6 separate regions of the Homo sapiens genome follow, and all the other regions are linked to region 3. Evidence: promoter capture Hi-C in 16 types of primary human blood cells and fetal thymus (Javierre and others, 2016). All regions are on one chromosome and are shown on one strand. Each heading gives the region's core, a stretch centred on a gene start or on the middle of the fragment in contact. The rest is flanking DNA. Distances are from core to core; before and after follow the strand shown.

Region 1 (2,700 bases), core at 54-2,553, 330 kb before region 3:
AGGAAGCTGCTCAAACCTACTGTATAGGTGTTAAATAATAGCAAAAGTCTATGATGGAAGGATTTCTGTTGCACCGGAGCAGCCCCAGGGGAGATGCAATTTTTACAGAGTATATTTATATATTTTGATTGTGGGGATCAGATGCTGTTCTATGACCTCCCGCCAGGTCTCCTTCCACCTTTCTGCCCTTGTAAACATATATTTTACATTTGTAAATCAGCCTGCAAAAAAGGTATTTTAAAAAAATCTAACACCCCAAACACTATTAATATTTGGTCCACATTTACCAATGCCTTATGTACCTAAATCGAAGGGGTTAAATAATATCAGCAGAAAAGAGAATTTACATTTTTCATCAAATGTCTGCCTGTATATTGAAATGTTTACTAGTAGTAAGCCTTATATTAATATCTGCAAAGCACATAATTTTTCAGAATGCTTTTTCACTTCCTTCATAACTACCTTAAGAGCAATCCAGAGCCATTATTCCCCGTTTTCAAATGGGAAAAAATAAGCTCAGGTAGCTTAGGTCCAGGACAATTTGCAAATGGCAGCAGAGGAAAAGATTCCATGTATTTCCCAAACCTCATTCAGTATCTGGATATGGGGACATAATGGATACAAAATTGTCTTAGTTTAAAGTAACAGGAAGAAAGCACCAAAATAAATCACATGAGTGGAAAAAATTAACTGTGCCTGCCATTTCCAGTTTTGGAGCAATTGAGTTGCTTCCTGCATTTAATGACACGGGCTAAATTACCATAGTTATAATTCCTCAAATAAAAAAATAGGTTATTTGGAACTTATTACTCTTTAATAGCATAGACCAGTGTTTCTCAAACGTTTTGGCCTAAAGGTTTCTTTATGTTTTTAAAAACTATCTTTAAAAATGATTCAGGATTCCAGAGAGCTTTTGTTTCTGTGGGTTATATCTACCCATGTTTACTGCATTGAAAAATAAAGCAAAAACTTTAAACATATTTTATTAATTTATTTAAAAATAGTAAATTAATGACGTTAAACTAAATAAATATTCACATTTTTATTACAATTTATTTCCCAAAACGAAACAAAAATTAGTGAGAAAACTGTCATTGCTTTCTATTTTTACAAATATATTTTGAGTCTGGCTTAAGGATGACTGGATTCTCCTATCTGCATTTGCATTCTAGTTGTGGTGATATCATACGTGTAGCTGACACACTCCACTGCAAATCCATGAGAATGACAGTGAAAAAGCCAAATAATGTGTTTGTGGTTTTTTTTTTTAAATAGTTTTGATCTTACAGGCTGTCAGGGATCCCTAAGCCATATTTTGAGAACTACTGATAAAAACAATAACAAAGCCAGAATTTTAAAAATATGTGTTTTCAATAATATAACAATTTCTGAGGCACATACTTTAAAGTGCATAATAATCTCTGAGAAGGATATTTTTTTCCAGTAGAATCATTTGAGTCTTAGTTCTTTTCTTTCCCTGGATGCTTTGTCTTTAGAGATAATCCAGAGCCTGGAAATTCTAAATTTAAAACAAAGAACAAGGACTCCAGCCTATCTGGTGTCAGCAAGAACAGTCAATGAGAACCACCACTTTGTGTGCATACACCAAACGATTCCAGTACAGTATATGAAAATAGTTTTAATCTCCTGACTAAGGTAAATTCAACACTAAATATTCTCTTTTTGTACCATCAGTTCGAAGAAATAAGATCCTAGTAGGGCATTGCCAGATGGGGAGACGAGAGATTACTCCAAGCTCATGGCCTTTGGGGTACCTTAAAGATAGAGTGACAGACCTCCATATTAAGACCAGTCAGAGGCAGGAAAGGTCCTCTTTGTCTTGAATACCAACACTTTGAGGCTATGGCAGCTTCTCAGAACAGATCTAGCTCTGATGTTGTAGAACAGAAAAAAATCTGAGTGCTGGCTCCATATTTCCCTTTCAGTGAGAAAGGCATTAATGTCTTGTCACTTGTCATCAGTTGGGAAATGCTCAAATGCAGCATTAGTTAATGAACCTATTTAGAATGTAATGGCCTATTTCCATGTATGGCATAAACTAAGCAAATGACAGGGGAGACACAATCACTCAATTCATCACTCTTCTTTATGAAATAATGTGCCTTTCCTTCCTTCCTCTCTTCTTTATTCTTACCTTTGTCCTTTTCTCAAATATTTATATTGTACCCATCATGAATGAGGTACTGTGGCAGATTCCACTTCATATTTATCTGGCTGCCAAATCTGTTTTCTTTTTTTTTTTCAATTTTTTATTTTTGGAGACATGGTCTCATTCTTTTGCCCAGGCTAGAGCCCAATGGCAGTATCACAGCTCATGGCAGCCTCAACCTCCCAGGCTCAGGTGATTCCCCCACGTCTGCCTCCTGAGTAGCTGGGACTACAGTGTGCACCATCATACCTGGCTAATTTTTTGTATTTTTAGTAGAGGCTGGTCTTGAATTCCTGGGCTCACGTGATCCACCCACCTCAGCCACCCAAAGGGCTAGGATTACAGGCATAAGCCACCACGCCAGGACTGTTTATGTTTTAATTACTAAATATTTTTTCTTCCAAAATAAAAGGAAAGCATGTCCTTTATAGAAAAATTAAAATTATAGTATAAAGAAGTCAACCATAATTGCCCATAACCAATCTCTAGGAGGCCATTTAAATAATTTCTTCTGGATTTCCTCCTGTATT
Region 2 (2,700 bases), core at 129-2,628, 310 kb before region 3:
GGTCATTAACCTCACCTCTCCAACATTTGCTGTGAGAAAGAACTGATTTTCTTTGAGTTTCTTCCTGCAAGCTGGGAACTATAATGGAACTTTATTACCTCATTTAAGCTTTAGTTGAATTCTTCTGGAAAGCTATTGTTGTGCCTATTTAATAGATGAAGATAAGGTGCACAAAAAGGTTAAATAAGCTGCTGTAGCACTCCCAACTAGTGATAGAAACTGGCCCCTCCTAAAGTAGTATATGGCCCCCAAACCTGAGCTCTTCGTGCTAAGGGCACCGAACCACTTCATCTTGGTGGCTGGATAAAAAGTTTGTATTACACTATGCAAAATAATTATTTTATGGCCCAGTATGTGACTTTCTTGCACTCACAGTAGCCTAGATCTACCTCAAGGTAATTTAACACATGCATCAGGAGTGGTTTGTTTAATCATCTTTCCTGTAACAACTACATTCTTGCTCATTGATCTAATATAAACCATTCTGTTGTGACTGGTATATTTAATGTGGAATATACCTCTAGAAGTAACAGACAAGCACCTGGCACCTAGTAAATGATAATATATAGTACTTACAAATATAGGGAAAAAATCCAATAAAAGCTATTTCTAATATTATGATCATTTCGTTTTTATCTTATCAATATTTTAGTAAAGATAATTTATCATCTATGTCACAGCATATTTCTGATTGCAGATATTATAGAAGATAAGTGTAAAAACAAATCAATGTAATCTTTGCTTTTGATGTCTGAATTTTTAAAATCCTTCAAAAGGGACATGAAGGGTGGGCCTAGATTTATTTATTTTTCCTGAAGTAGGGCCCAATCTGTAAGACTGTGACTCAGGAGATCCTTCTTTGTGTCTCTGTCATTTAAGACATGGGAATGACCCTTTACCTCTCTTTATCTAAATCAGATTAGGTCATTGCAGCCTACAGGCTGAGTTACAATAATTTTCTTTGTCTACCTCCAACTGAGTAAATTGCACCATGTTCTTCCTGGAAAACATGACCACTAACCCAGTGGCTGTTGGTTTGGCCAATTAGAAATGAGACTGCTGGAGGTGGTATAAGGTGCTCTGTCCTCTCTTAACTGCCAATGGGCCACACCTACTTATCCAGGTCACTAGGGCACTCAAGTCAAAAGAAGTGCCTGGGAGAAAATGGCACATTTGGGTGATGGTCTCGCTGGCTGTTTACTGTATGCTGAGTCTCTTAGGAGACCGTTCACTGCCTGGTAATCATCTGCTTTCTGAATTCTGGAAAATATTTCTCTGTGGATGAAAATGGGTCAGGATTCTGAACTTTGCCACACACACACAAACACACACATACATGCACGCACGCACACACACACACTATTTTAAGAAAAAGAAAGAAAGAAAAGAAAAGGAAATTAAGGCTGAAAAAATCACAAAATAAGCACCATGCTAGGTCAGATATTTTCCTCTGTTCATTCTTGCATTGTTTGCTGCTGATTTTAAAGGGCAGAATTGTTGAGACTCTTCCATGTTTCCATGGGGGACTTCAGACTTGGAAACATTGCAGGGACACAAAAGCCAAGAGGATTTTGCTATGGTTATGTAGAGAATAAACTGTTACAAGCTCAGAGCTGTGAAATACCAATTTGGAGAGGATACTTACCCCCTCCCAGGCCACTTATGGATGAGACAGCATTTTGGCCACATCCCCTCTGGGCACAGTCGACTGCTCAGTTGGTTCTGGGAGCTACTTGTTAGCTGAATCTCTGGGACAGGGGTTGGCCTCCATGTGCTCATTGTGAATATGTATGGTTCTGACACCATGATTCCCCACATTCTTGTGAGTCGGATTAACAGAAAGCAGACACTCCCCTACTCCTCTATAAAAGGTCAGATTAAAGAAAAAAAATGATGATGTCTTTGGAGGTTATGGTCAGGAAAAGGGGCTAGCAATAAAAGCAAGAAGGCAAGAGCTCTGAAGCAAGAACTCTGAAGAGATATCTTAGAGGTTAAACAGATCACAAGGCTGTAGTTCAGATGATCAGATGTTATCAAGCCACAAGAATGTGAGGTAGAGGTCAGGGAGTAGGCTGAGATTAAAGCGGGCGTTTCTGATGAATGTTTTCCATTAGTTTTAAGCCACTCTAAAAGCAGCGAAGTGTGGCTGTGACAAGCGCCCTGCCGAATGAGTAAAGTAAACCTTGGAGGGGGCTCAGTAAAGGATATTTAGCAAGCAAATGATAGAGCCTAGACTCAACACCCAGGCTTATCTCACTCCAAAGGCTGTTTGCACCGTGTGCTTTGTAGCACTTTGGACCTCCACTTTGGAGGGGGAATTTATTTTATTCTTGCATGATACTGAATACTTCCCATTAGTTAGCATCTGTGGATCTCAAGTACTATGAGGTGAAGTACCTCTTACTGTACCCTCAGTTCAAATTTTCTAATTGTTTTAGTAAGACCACAGTAGCACAAATGGCAAGTGGTACTTGCTGTTAATTTTTCCTGTTTTAGATTCTCCTGGCCCACTTTATTTCTGATTAGATTGAGGTAGCATAGTGAGTTTTTGTTTTGTTTATTCATTTGCATTGTTGATCTAGAGCCGTGGTTTTCAGACTTTATTGGTCTTGGAACCCCTTTACACTCTTAATTACTAAGGACACTAAAAAGCTTTGTTTATGTGAGTTATATCTATTTATATTTACTGTATTAAAAATC
Region 3 (2,700 bases), core at 22-2,521:
CTGTCCAGCAGAAACATGTTTGATTGCTTTTAGAGTCAGAAGTCAACACCATCCACAAAAATACATTCTTTTAGCCAGGTTTTAGAACACTTTGAAACATAGAAAATTCCTTATTCTACAAACAAGTCCTTTTAGAGATATTCTAAATATGCCAGTGATGAATGTCTAATTCATATGCAGGATTCAAGGCTATTGAGGTGAGCTAGACTAAGAATACCAAGAACACAAAATTGTATTGATACACAAACAGTATGTAAATTACTTTGTCAGATTACAAAAATGCATCAGATTTTATCTATGGTTTTCATAGATAAACATAAAGCAATAAGTTAGTTGCTTTAAAAAAATATATAGCTCAGGTGTTTCTCTTCATTCAAGTGTGAAAGGCACAGCAGTCCCGAGTCTTAGGGGCACCCACCGCAGCCACATCACCGCGCTGGGACAGATGCAGTCCGCAGCGTTCCCAGTATTTTGTCCCAGTGTGTAAAGTACGGAGCGAAGTTGCAGTTAAAGTGAGAGTGATGCAGGTCGTGGTGCACCACACCCCCGTACCACCCGAAGGGCACCAGTCTGTGAGTGGACCAAGGGAAGTTGTAGCCGGAGTGGTCCTCCACGGAAAGCCAGATGTTGACCACGTGGAAGGTCAGGGTGGTGAGCGGGTGGCACCCGAGCAGTGTGACGTTCATCATGTCGAAGAAGCCCAAAGAAAACAGTTCCCAGACGCTCATATACTGCGTTGCCAGCGCGAACGAGGACGAGTTCTGGTGGTGCACCTTGTGGAAGGTGCGGTACAGCCAGGGCACCTTGTGGTGCAGCAGGTGCCACACGAAGAACTCCATGTCGAAGAGTAGCAGGCAGAACAGGATGTGGTGCAGCAGCAGGAGCAGCTCGGGAGCTTCGTGGGGCAGGAGGGCCGGGCTGCGGGCCCAATGCAGCAGCGTCACGGGGAACACAAACATCACATGCTGGTAGAGGGTCTGCCCCAGGCAAGGTAGCAGCTGCTGCGCGGATGGCGAGAAGTCAGGGTGGATCTTGTAGCGCCGCAGGGCGGGCACCCAGGAGCACAGGATATCCAGGACCACGAAGGGCAGGCAAAAGCCCACGTATGTGGTGATGGAGAAGATGACCGGGAAGAAGGGCGACTGTAGGAGGGCCTCCCAGCTCCTCAGGTGGTCCCAGAGGGGCTGCAGGAACAGCTGCCCGGAGCTGCAAAGGACCTGGGGGTCGGAGCAGTTGTGGCAGCTCATTGCGAGGCTGTGCAAGGCAGCTGAGGCTGCTGCTCGAGTCCCATCGACTTTTCACAGGACTCACGGCCCCGCCCCGAGTGATGTCAGCTGCCTTTCCATCCCTTTCCCGGCGATGCGAAGCTTGAATAAGCTAGCAACCCGGCAGAGTGGCCCTTCATTGCTGTAAATGTGCTCATCTATAGCCGCATCTTACCGGCTTTTAGATATGCGTGTATGCAGTGGCACTTCGTACTTTTCATGTAAGTTCTGATTTTTCAGTTGACGTACAATTAACACGGGACACAATGTACAGATCTACCGTGTGGAGTTTCTATGAGTTTGGCAACTCAGTTCACGTGTGTCATCACGGGTCTCAAACTAGACCGTTTACATTGCCACCAGAAAGCGCTCCTTTGCAATCAATGCAGAATTGTTTGTGTTTTTTAATGCATACGTATAACTGCATCCATGTGCTTTCATAAAGACGCAAGCATAATCGCATTTTAAAAACTGTTTAAAGCTACATGCGGTCTGTAGCTCGGGTGTTTTCTGAGAACCCGGTTGCGGTCTATCCAGCGGCGATCGAGAAACGAGCCCTTTGCACAGGGAACCGCTGGTCCCCGAACGCCGGCGGTGACCGTCAGCTCAGGAAATCAGACGGGAAGGGTGGCCGGATGGGAACCTCCGCCAGCTCCAGCTTGTCCCCAGAGTTTTCCTGGCCGGCGGGCAGCAAGCTAGAGAGACCACGCACGCAGGCTCTCCGGGAGAGGCCGCAGCCCGGCCGCGTAGCTACCCTCGGCGGCGCGTCCCGGGGCGCCGGGCCCGCGATCGGAGCCGGAGGCACCGCACAGCGGAAAGAGGGCTCCGCGGCGGCCAGGCTCAGCTTTGCCGGGAAAATGCTGGATTTAACTCCCAGTCTGCGCCAATCTGGCTAAAAAGCCCGTTGTATCTCAATTTGGGGCGGGAACACTTAATTCAGCAAACCACCTGCGTTGTTCGTCAAGGGAAAGAGATGTGAGTTCCTGAAGCCTCCCGGGAGGCTATTGAAGGACCAGGTGATGTCGTCACTACCCTACCCTTCCCCTTGTTGGCTTTGCGGGGCCAACTTGCAGTCGCCCTCTGCCACCGGTCCTTGAATCCACTCCGGGCCCACGGAGCCCGGCTAGGGGGCTAGTCTCTATCCCCTGCGTTTCTCCGCCACCCATCTGGGGTCCTCGGGCCAGGGGCCACCGAGCACAAGGAGGTCGGTACTAGGAGAGCTCTTGAGAGACCCTGGGAACAGCACAAAAATCCTCGCGTTCAACCCGGGGTCTGACACATGACACGATACAAGGGCCCCTTAGGGGATAGACGTTTTAGACACCAGCTTTGAAGCCAGGGAGCACTCCTAATTCTTGCTTAGTGTCTTGTATCTATGTGGTTGTGTCCAGCCCTTTACTCCTTGAAGCTTGCATTTTCTTATCCCCCCGATTCC
Region 4 (2,700 bases), core at 55-2,554, 350 kb before region 3:
GATGGAAGAAGAGACCAAGGCAAGTTTTAGAGCAGGAGCGACAGTTTATTAAAAAGCTTTAGAGCAGGAATAAACAAAGTAAAGTACATTTGGAAGAGGACCAAGTGGGCAACTTGAAAGACAAGTGTGCAGTTTGACTTTTGACTCGGGGTTTTTATACGTTGGCATACTTCCAGGGTCCTGCATTCCTTCTCCCCTGATTCTGCCCTTTGGTGGGCTGTCCACATGTGCAGTGGCCCACCAGGATTTGGGAGGGGAGCATGCACAGTGTGTTTACTGGAGTTGTATGCATGCTTACTTGAAGCACTCTTCTCTTACCAGCTGAATGTCCCTAGAAGGTAATATACCAGTTAAACTCTGCCATTCTGCCTCTTAATGTGCATGCTTGAACCCACTCGCCCAACTCCTGAGATCTTATCAGGAAGCTGCTGATCACCAGTTTCAAGTTTTTTCTGTCTATTGGGAGACTGCCTTTCCCTGGCACTGGCTGTGACCAATTGTTATTTTATATATATATATATATATATATATATATATATAATTTTTTTTTTTTTGAGATGGAGTCTTGCTCTGTTGCCCAGGCTGGAGTGCAGTGGTACAATCACAGCTCATTACAACCTCCACCTCCCAGGTTCAAGCGATTCTCCTGCCTCAGCTTCCAGAGTCGCTGGGATTACAGACACCTGCCACCTGTATTTTTGTATTTTTAGTAGAGACGGGGTTTCACCATGTTGGCCAGGCTGGTCTCAAACTCCTGACCTGAGGTGATCTGCCCACCTCGACCTCCTAAAGTGCTGGAATTGCAAGCATGAGCCACCACGCCTGGCCCTCAACTATTATTTTAGAGAGACGGTTAACAACCTCCTTACTATCACCTGATGTTCACCTGACATTCCTGGTGGGTGGGGGGAGCCCTCTCCTACTCTGCTCATGTCTGACTAGCTACTTACTGTAAAATTGGCTCCCATTGGAGAGATTTGAGTAGAGGAGTGTTGTAATCAGAATTTTATTTATATAATAAAGCTCACTCTGGCTGTTGTACAGAGAGTGGATCTGAGGCAGGAAAAAAGAAACAGCAACTAGTTAGGAGGTTATTGCATTAGGTCAGCTGCATGATAATAGTTACCTGGGGCAGAAGAGCAGCAGTGTGGATAGAGAGAATAGGATAAACTCTAGAGTTTAGGAGGTAGAAATAACAGACTTTGCCAACTATGAGTTATTAAGCTATCTCCTAGCATTGAACACACTTTTCTATGTTTGGTTCTTCAATGCCTACCCTGGCATTCTGCAAGCTAGCTTTTTTTTTTTCCTACTGGTATGTGGAGACAAAATTAACTTCATCTTGGATGCTAATCCACCATGTTGACTTCTCATTAACCCCAGTCCCATAAATGCCTTCGGATTCCTACTTTATTTACTGTCCTTAGTGTAAGAACACATACTTACTGTAAATCCTGCCTTTAGACCAAAGCAAACTTGATGTTATCACACAAATATAGGTTATGATGCACACAGCACTCTTGCCTGTTCTGGGGGGTTGTCTTTAATTGTCTCTATAGAGCATGTATCCCCTTTCCTTATGATATATAAGCCCGGGGTCTGGGGTGTATTGGTGTGGAGATCTATTTGTCTTGCTACTGCAGGCCACACTTCTGTCTGTAAGTTCCCCCAATAAATTACCCTTTATCAAAAAACTGATTTTGTCTGCCTTATTATTTGGTTTCTTGGCTCCTTCCTTGTTTGGAGATTGCTTTGCATATATGACCCTTTCTTGAAACCTGGTCTATTTTCTAAGGAGCACTCCATGTGAGATTACAACGCTAAAGAGGGAGAAAGAGATCTACTCATTTCTATATGCTTGCAATCCTATCGGCCTCATCCCACCAATAGCTCTTCATCCAAGAAAAAGCAATTGATCGAGCTTATTTTCCACATTCCCAGAACCAGCCTATTTATACCTTTCAGAGGTGCCCAGCACTAATTGTTTCTCTCCCCGAACCCAAATTCATGCAATTCCTTCCTTGCGATTCTGAGGTATGAGCAGCTACCAAGAAATGGCCCCTCCTCAAGGCCTGGGGCCCAGAATTTCAAGGCCCTTTTCTCTCCTAAGTTCTAATAACCCCAACCTCACTCTGTTCCCTCAGTCCAAGGGGTGGTAGCTGTTCCTGCAATTCTATCTCTGTGTTACCTTAATATTCTCTTTTTACTTTCTAGTCTTCCAATACCTACTTAACCAATTCCAGACATTCAATTCTTTGTGTTTAAATAACTAGGTTGTTTTCTTTACTTAAGTTGGACTAACATAGTACTATGGAGATGTTTAGAAGCTAGAAATAACAGAATTATCCATCTGATATAAGATACATGGGAAATGGCAGAACAAGGATAATATGCATGTATCTGGCTTTGGAAATTTGGTAGATTTTTATCTTTCAAAGAAAACTCTGGAAGAGCAAGATTAGGGAAAGCCTGGGAAGAGATGATTAGCTCAGGTATGCACAAATTTTATTTAAGGAACATATTTCTAGCACACTAAGTGGAGATGCCAATAGAAAGCTTGTTATATGATTCTGGAGTTTTAGAGTAAGGGTTACACTAGAGATTAAGCTTTTTGAGGGTCATTAGCATTAGATTAATAATCCTCAATGTAAGAAATAGAAGAGTTGGGAAACCTTATTAAAGTTATTTTTTTCCTCTAAA
Region 5 (2,700 bases), core at 141-2,640, 430 kb before region 3:
ATGTGATTGCAAATATATACAAATATTAAAACAATTATATGACTTTATAAAATATTTGTATATAATGAAAACTGAAGCAATATAAAAAATAAAATTAGTTGTGTCAGGGTAGTAACATGATGAGTGATTAATAGTTTTTAATTTTTAATATAGTAATGACATAATGTTACAACTTGTCCAAATCTCACAAACATAATATTCAGTAAAGGAAGATAAACATAAAAGAATACATATTTTATTATACATTTTTATGTAGGCTAATTGATGGTTCTGAAAGCCTTAAAAAGCTTACTTTTAGGAGGAGAATCATGCCTTGGAGGACTCTAGGGTCCAGAAAAATGTCCTAATACTAGAGCTAGGTGCAGTCAGATTAATTATAATACATTTCATTATTTTGTCTGGAATACCAAGATGACTTCCAAGCAGGAATGGAGTCTAGCAACACTTTACTGATGGGGAACTTGGCCACAGACTTGTAATACAAATTTTTGGATATGTTGACAATGTTTCTCCTTATTTTTCTTACTTATACAAAGCAAGAAATTTGGCTCACAACCTTGAAACAGACTTACCAGGTTCCTCCAGTTTCCCAAGCCTCAATATCTCATTGCTATTTTTAATAGAACAAGGTAAATAATAACATGAATGTTATTCAATACAAATTGATGTCAAATGTAAATTCTGACTCAGAACATTGGTGAATTTCTTTCAATCGGTATAATCAATCAGTTTCAGAGAGGCGAAGTCTTGCTCAAGTGACAGCCTTTTTGAGACTCATTAACCAAAGAACAAGGCACGTGTTTCACCATCAGGGCTTTGTTCAACTTTGATCACCTCTGCATTCTCCTCTCATAGGAAGGTTACCCACATTTTCCAAGGTCTGGCCACAATACCACCATTTCTGAAACGTTTTGCCTGAACTATATGTTCTAGAATTACTGTTCCCTCTTCTAAATCACTTTTTTTTTTTAGACAGGGTTTCACTGTTGCCCAGTGAAGTTGCCCAGGCTGGAGTACAATGGTGCGATCTCAGTTCACTGCAACCTCTGCCTCCTAGGTTCTAGCAATTCTCCTGCCTCAGCCTCCCAAGTAGCTGGGAGTACAGGTGCCCATCACATGCCCAGCTAATTTTTTGTATTTTTAGTAGAGATAGGGTTTCACTATGTTGGCCAGGCTGATCTCGAACTCCTGACCTCAGGCAATCCACCCCGCCTCGGCCTCTCAAAGTGCTGGGATTACAGGCATGAGCCACCGCGCCCAGCTTAAATCACTTTTTATTATGCTTCTGAATTATCTTTTTGGAGAGTTCTGTGTAAGTCTACTGCCCTAATAAATTTTAAGTAGCTTGAAAACAGAAGCATTTAAGATATAGAACTCTCCATTACCACACTAAATTCACTTTTGCTATTCCTTTATGGTCAACCACCACTACCACCATGACCAGCTCTCCTTGAACTTGATCCCTGACAACTTATCTGTTCTCCATTGCTATAATGTCTTATAAATAAAATCATGGAGTATGTGGCCTTGATATTGGCTTTTTTTTACTCAGCATGATGTCCTTGAGATCTATCCAAGTTGTTGCATATATCAAGTTTGTTCCTCCTTATTGCTGAATAGCATTGCACGGTATGCATGCACCACAGTTTGTTTAACTATTCACTCACTGAAAAACACGTGGGTTATTTCCAAGTTTTGGCTTTATCTTTTTGGTGTTTCACTGCTTAATGGCATGTCTTGAAAATAAAAAAAAAAACACTCCGCTCAGATTCATTAATTTGACTTAATTGCAAGTCCCACCCAAAGCTAAATTTTCTGTGCTAATACCTTTTGTAATCTGTACACTGCCTCAAGGGAAAATGTTACTCAAGTCAGAGTTCCCATTGACTTGACTACACAATCCTTGATTCATATTTTAATTTGGCATTTAGAGATTGCAAAACAGTGACGTGGTTCTCATTACATTTTTGAGTTCTAATGTGATTTAAGAAGTGCTTTGGAGTAGGGTGAAAACAGATTGCTAGTATTTATACCTTGATTGACTATGAAGTCCTTCCTCCAGCCATTGTCAAGATGTGACATGTCTTTAGCTCTGTCAAAACCTCCATCAGCATCATCATATCTCCCACAGAGCCAAACCAAATAAAAGTAATCACAGTAATAATAGTGTGCAATCATTAAAAATCTATGTGAAGTATTAATATAAAACACCAACAATTTTTAGTATATAGATATAAAAAGGTAAATTCTATAAAAACAGTACGCTTTCTATGGAATGCACCTTCAAGAAAGTTTCATCATTCTCCTCCATTCTATTTCCTATAAGATTGTCCATAAATTCCATTTATGGAGGAATTCTGGAGTCAAACCTTTCTTCTTTTTGTACCTTCTACACATATTGGCCATTTTAGTTGGTGTGTGAATTTCTTTCCTTATCAAAGCAGTCAACTTAGCTAAGAAAGATTATTTATTTGGGATATGATGTGGCCTTAATAAGCTTAATCAAAATAAGCACTTGTATGGTATTTGATAGCACAACAGGGTGACTATAGTCAATAATTTAATTGTACATTTAAAAATAACTAAGAGTATAATTGGATGGTTTGTAACACAAAGGATAAATGCTTGAGGTGATGAGTACCCTATTTACCCTGATGTGATTATATATTATATGACTGTATCAAAGTATCTCATATATCC
Region 6 (2,700 bases), core at 166-2,665, 400 kb before region 3:
ATGCACAATTTACTATTTTCCAACGTTTTTTCTGCTAAACAATGTATATCATGAAGAATTTCCCAACGTTTTAAATACCCTTCTACAACATCATTTCACCTTGCTGCATTATGTTCCATTTTTTTAAATAAGTATTTGCCCCAGGTTGGATTTTCTGGGGGACAGACTCTGAGGCAGAATTCATACAATAATGTTTATTAAGGAGAATCATCATCATCGCCTGTGGAAAGGAAGTAGAGAATCAGGAGTAAGGAAAGAGATAAATCAAACTGTGATACAGACTTCAAAACAGCCAGACTCAACTCCATGAGGAGCTATGGAGCTAAAACTGCTCTTCAGAGATGTCCTACGTTGGGCTGAGATGACCAGGCCTTTAGACCGCAAACAGGTCAGTCACTGGATGTGGCAGGAAGGGACGTGAACTTGGAGGAAGTGGCTTTCTACAGCTAAGGCCATTCCTACAGAAAATGACAGCCAAGGGTGATCTGTTGACAGCACTTCCAGTGGATGGGACCAGTCCTTTATTGCCTGCATAAATTTTCCTGCCAAGTATAGCATGTTGACCATCTTGCCACCTGTAGACAATGTTTGCAGCATTTGTAGTTCTTTTTCTTCTCAGATGTCCATGTCCCTATCCCTACCTCCTTGGCTCTTTTGAGCAACTTCTATTCAATCCTCAAGGCCCAGTTCAAATTCTTCCTCCATAAGACCTTGCCTGTCCAGCCCTGCTCATTTTGCTCCTCCTGCTCAGAATTCCTTTGCTCCTTCCTTCACTCTCATCCTTCATCCCTCATCTGACACATTACACATATCCTCTCAATAACTACTTGTCAGATGTCCTCCATTCTCATGTTTTTATATATATTTAACTCCCCAAATAGTTGACAACAGTGGTTCCTGAAGGATAGTTGTCAGATCAGCAACATCTGCTTTGCCTGGGAACTTGTATATCAATTTTTTGGGTTCCACACAGACCTGCTGTATCAGACTGTGAGTGGGGTCCCGCAATTTGTGTTTTAACAAACCCTCTAAGTAATTCTGATGCATGCTAAAATTTGAGACACTTCTATAAATTTTTTTTTCTTTGAGATGGAGTCTCCCTCTGTCACCAGGTTGGAGTGCAGTGGCGCGATCTTGGCTCACTGTAACCTCCGCCTCCCAGATTCAAGCAATTCCTCTTCCTCAGCCTCCCAAGTAGCTAGGACTATAGGCATGCACCACCACGCCCGGCTAATTTTTTTTATTATTATTTTAGTAGAGATGGTGTTTCACCATGTTGGCCAGGATGGTCTCGATCTCCTGACCTTGTGATCCACCCACCTCAACCTCCCAAAGTGCTGGGATTACAGGTGTGAGCCACTGTGCCCGGCCTATACATTTTTTTAAGGTTAAGTATACAATGGTGTCTCACACACATACATGCACACATATACACTGCATTCCATAATATTCGGTTAATTGAGTTTTAATTATAGTGGTAGTTAATGCTTATTGAGTTCCTACTATGTGCTGGGAATTACAGTTAGTGTTATATGTGCATTATCTTTTTGCATTTATTGCAACAGTCCCATGGAGTATGAACCATTAGAATTCCTAATTTACAGATGCATGAACTGAAGCATAGGAGCAGTTTAACTAAATTTCTCAAGATTATACAGCTAGTTTATGTAATAGTGTTAGAACCAGTGTTAAAACTCAAACAGTGGGACCCAGGAGCTTTCTCCTAATGACTATGCTTTGTTTTTGCCCTATATTCTACCTGGGCATGTGATGTTTGGCCTTCTCTCTTGCTCTTTTTTAAAGCAGCCCCTGATGCAAATGGTTCTCTCCTTCTCTCTGAGTGATAACAATGGGCAAGAATAGTGAGGATGCTTAGAAGATATTTGCAGCTACAAATTTTCCAGAGAATGTCTACATGTAACTACTGTATAGAGTAAGGATTCTTAACCAGGGGTTCGTATGTAGGCAACAAGATATCTGAAACTCCTGAAATTGAATGCAAAACCATGTTTTTGTATCCATTGTATATCCATTTTTATAGTTCTCCTCAAATTCACAGAGGGAACTTTAACCTGAAAATGTTAGGAATCAATGCTCTTGAGTCTGTGGTTTTAGAACTGGAAAGAACCTTAGGAAATGCATGGCCCAGGAATGCTCATAAGTTGTCCTGGAACAGGTGCCCCACTGGCTGCTTTAGAACCATCTTATCTGTAACCTGAAGTGGGCTCAAGACTCTGTATGTTTCAATGCCCAGAAGATTCTGATGCACAACGAGGTTTTGGAATCAATGTTCTGATCCAGTGGTTCTCAAACATTAGGGTACATCAAAATTCCCTAAAGAGCTTGAGACACAAACTGCTGGGCCCAGTCCTCTGAGTTCCTGATTCAGTAGGTTTGGTTGGAATTTGCATATCTAACAGATTAGTCCAAGTGATGCTGATGCCTTTGTCCCAAGGCCCATACTTTGAGAACCATAATTCTATTCCGGTTTCCATATTAAGACAAAGAAAGTAAGGACTAGAGAGGGTTAGCAGATTTTTCTAAGGTAACATGATTAGCTAGGGAAAAGCAAGGACTTTCACTGTGTTTTACAGCATCAAGGAATCTACTCTTACTTTTGGATCATTGAGAATATGGCCACAGAGAACTGAACCTAAAAGAAATTGTGCTTTTTCCATAGAGTGAAATCATCCAACATCA

The links. Contacts are between HindIII fragments. The CHiCAGO score rates a contact against its expected background, and 5 or more counts as called.
Region 1: a fragment that was not itself captured here is called in contact with the fragment with the promoter of CH25H in region 3 in 2 of 17 cell types (activated CD4 T cells and neutrophils); the score reaches 5.9 in activated CD4 T cells.
Region 2: a fragment that was not itself captured here is called in contact with the fragment with the promoter of CH25H in region 3 in 1 of 17 cell types (total CD8 T cells); the score reaches 5.1 in total CD8 T cells.
Region 4: a fragment that was not itself captured here is called in contact with the fragment with the promoter of CH25H in region 3 in 2 of 17 cell types (total CD8 T cells and erythroblasts); the score reaches 6.2 in total CD8 T cells.
Region 5: a fragment that was not itself captured here is called in contact with the fragment with the promoter of CH25H in region 3 in 1 of 17 cell types (activated CD4 T cells); the score reaches 5.3 in activated CD4 T cells.
Region 6: a contact is called between a fragment that was not itself captured here and the fragment with the promoter of CH25H in region 3, in 1 of 17 cell types (activated CD4 T cells). The highest score is 5.3, in activated CD4 T cells.

Annotation. Positions count from the first base shown.
Region 1 is chr10:88,873,261-88,875,960 of GRCh38, forward strand. No RefSeq gene overlaps it. Among named protein-coding and RNA genes, the nearest start is that of STAMBPL1, 5.6 kb to the right of the region's middle. The HindIII fragment of the contact is 7,787 bases long and covers 1-2,700 here.
Region 2 is chr10:88,895,516-88,898,215 of GRCh38, forward strand. All of the region lies in intron 1 of STAMBPL1 (STAM binding protein like 1), which reads left to right. Among named protein-coding and RNA genes, the nearest start is that of STAMBPL1, 17 kb to the left of the region's middle. The HindIII fragment of the contact is 2,544 bases long and covers 107-2,650 here.
Region 3 is chr10:89,206,046-89,208,745 of GRCh38, forward strand. CH25H (cholesterol 25-hydroxylase) reads right to left here and starts at 1,272. Exons shown (of 1, transcript NM_003956.4): 1 at 1-1,272. The coding sequence starts at 1,247. The coding sequence ends at 429. RefSeq lists an enhancer at 1,044-1,113. The HindIII fragment of the contact is 3,745 bases long and covers 1-1,365 here.
Region 4 is chr10:88,854,766-88,857,465 of GRCh38, forward strand. No RefSeq gene overlaps it. Among named protein-coding and RNA genes, the nearest start is that of ANKRD22, 4.3 kb to the left of the region's middle. The HindIII fragment of the contact is 2,500 bases long and covers 55-2,554 here.
Region 5 is chr10:88,779,512-88,782,211 of GRCh38, forward strand. It overlaps LIPN (lipase family member N), which reads left to right. Exons shown (of 10, transcript NM_001102469.2): 10 at 1-115. Among named protein-coding and RNA genes, the nearest start is that of LIPN, 21 kb to the left of the region's middle. The HindIII fragment of the contact is 2,210 bases long and covers 286-2,495 here.
Region 6 is chr10:88,805,618-88,808,317 of GRCh38, forward strand. It overlaps LIPM (lipase family member M), which reads left to right. Exons shown (of 9, transcript NM_001128215.1): 2 at 2,681-2,700. Among named protein-coding and RNA genes, the nearest start is that of LIPM, 4.2 kb to the left of the region's middle. The HindIII fragment of the contact is 3,495 bases long and covers 1-2,700 here.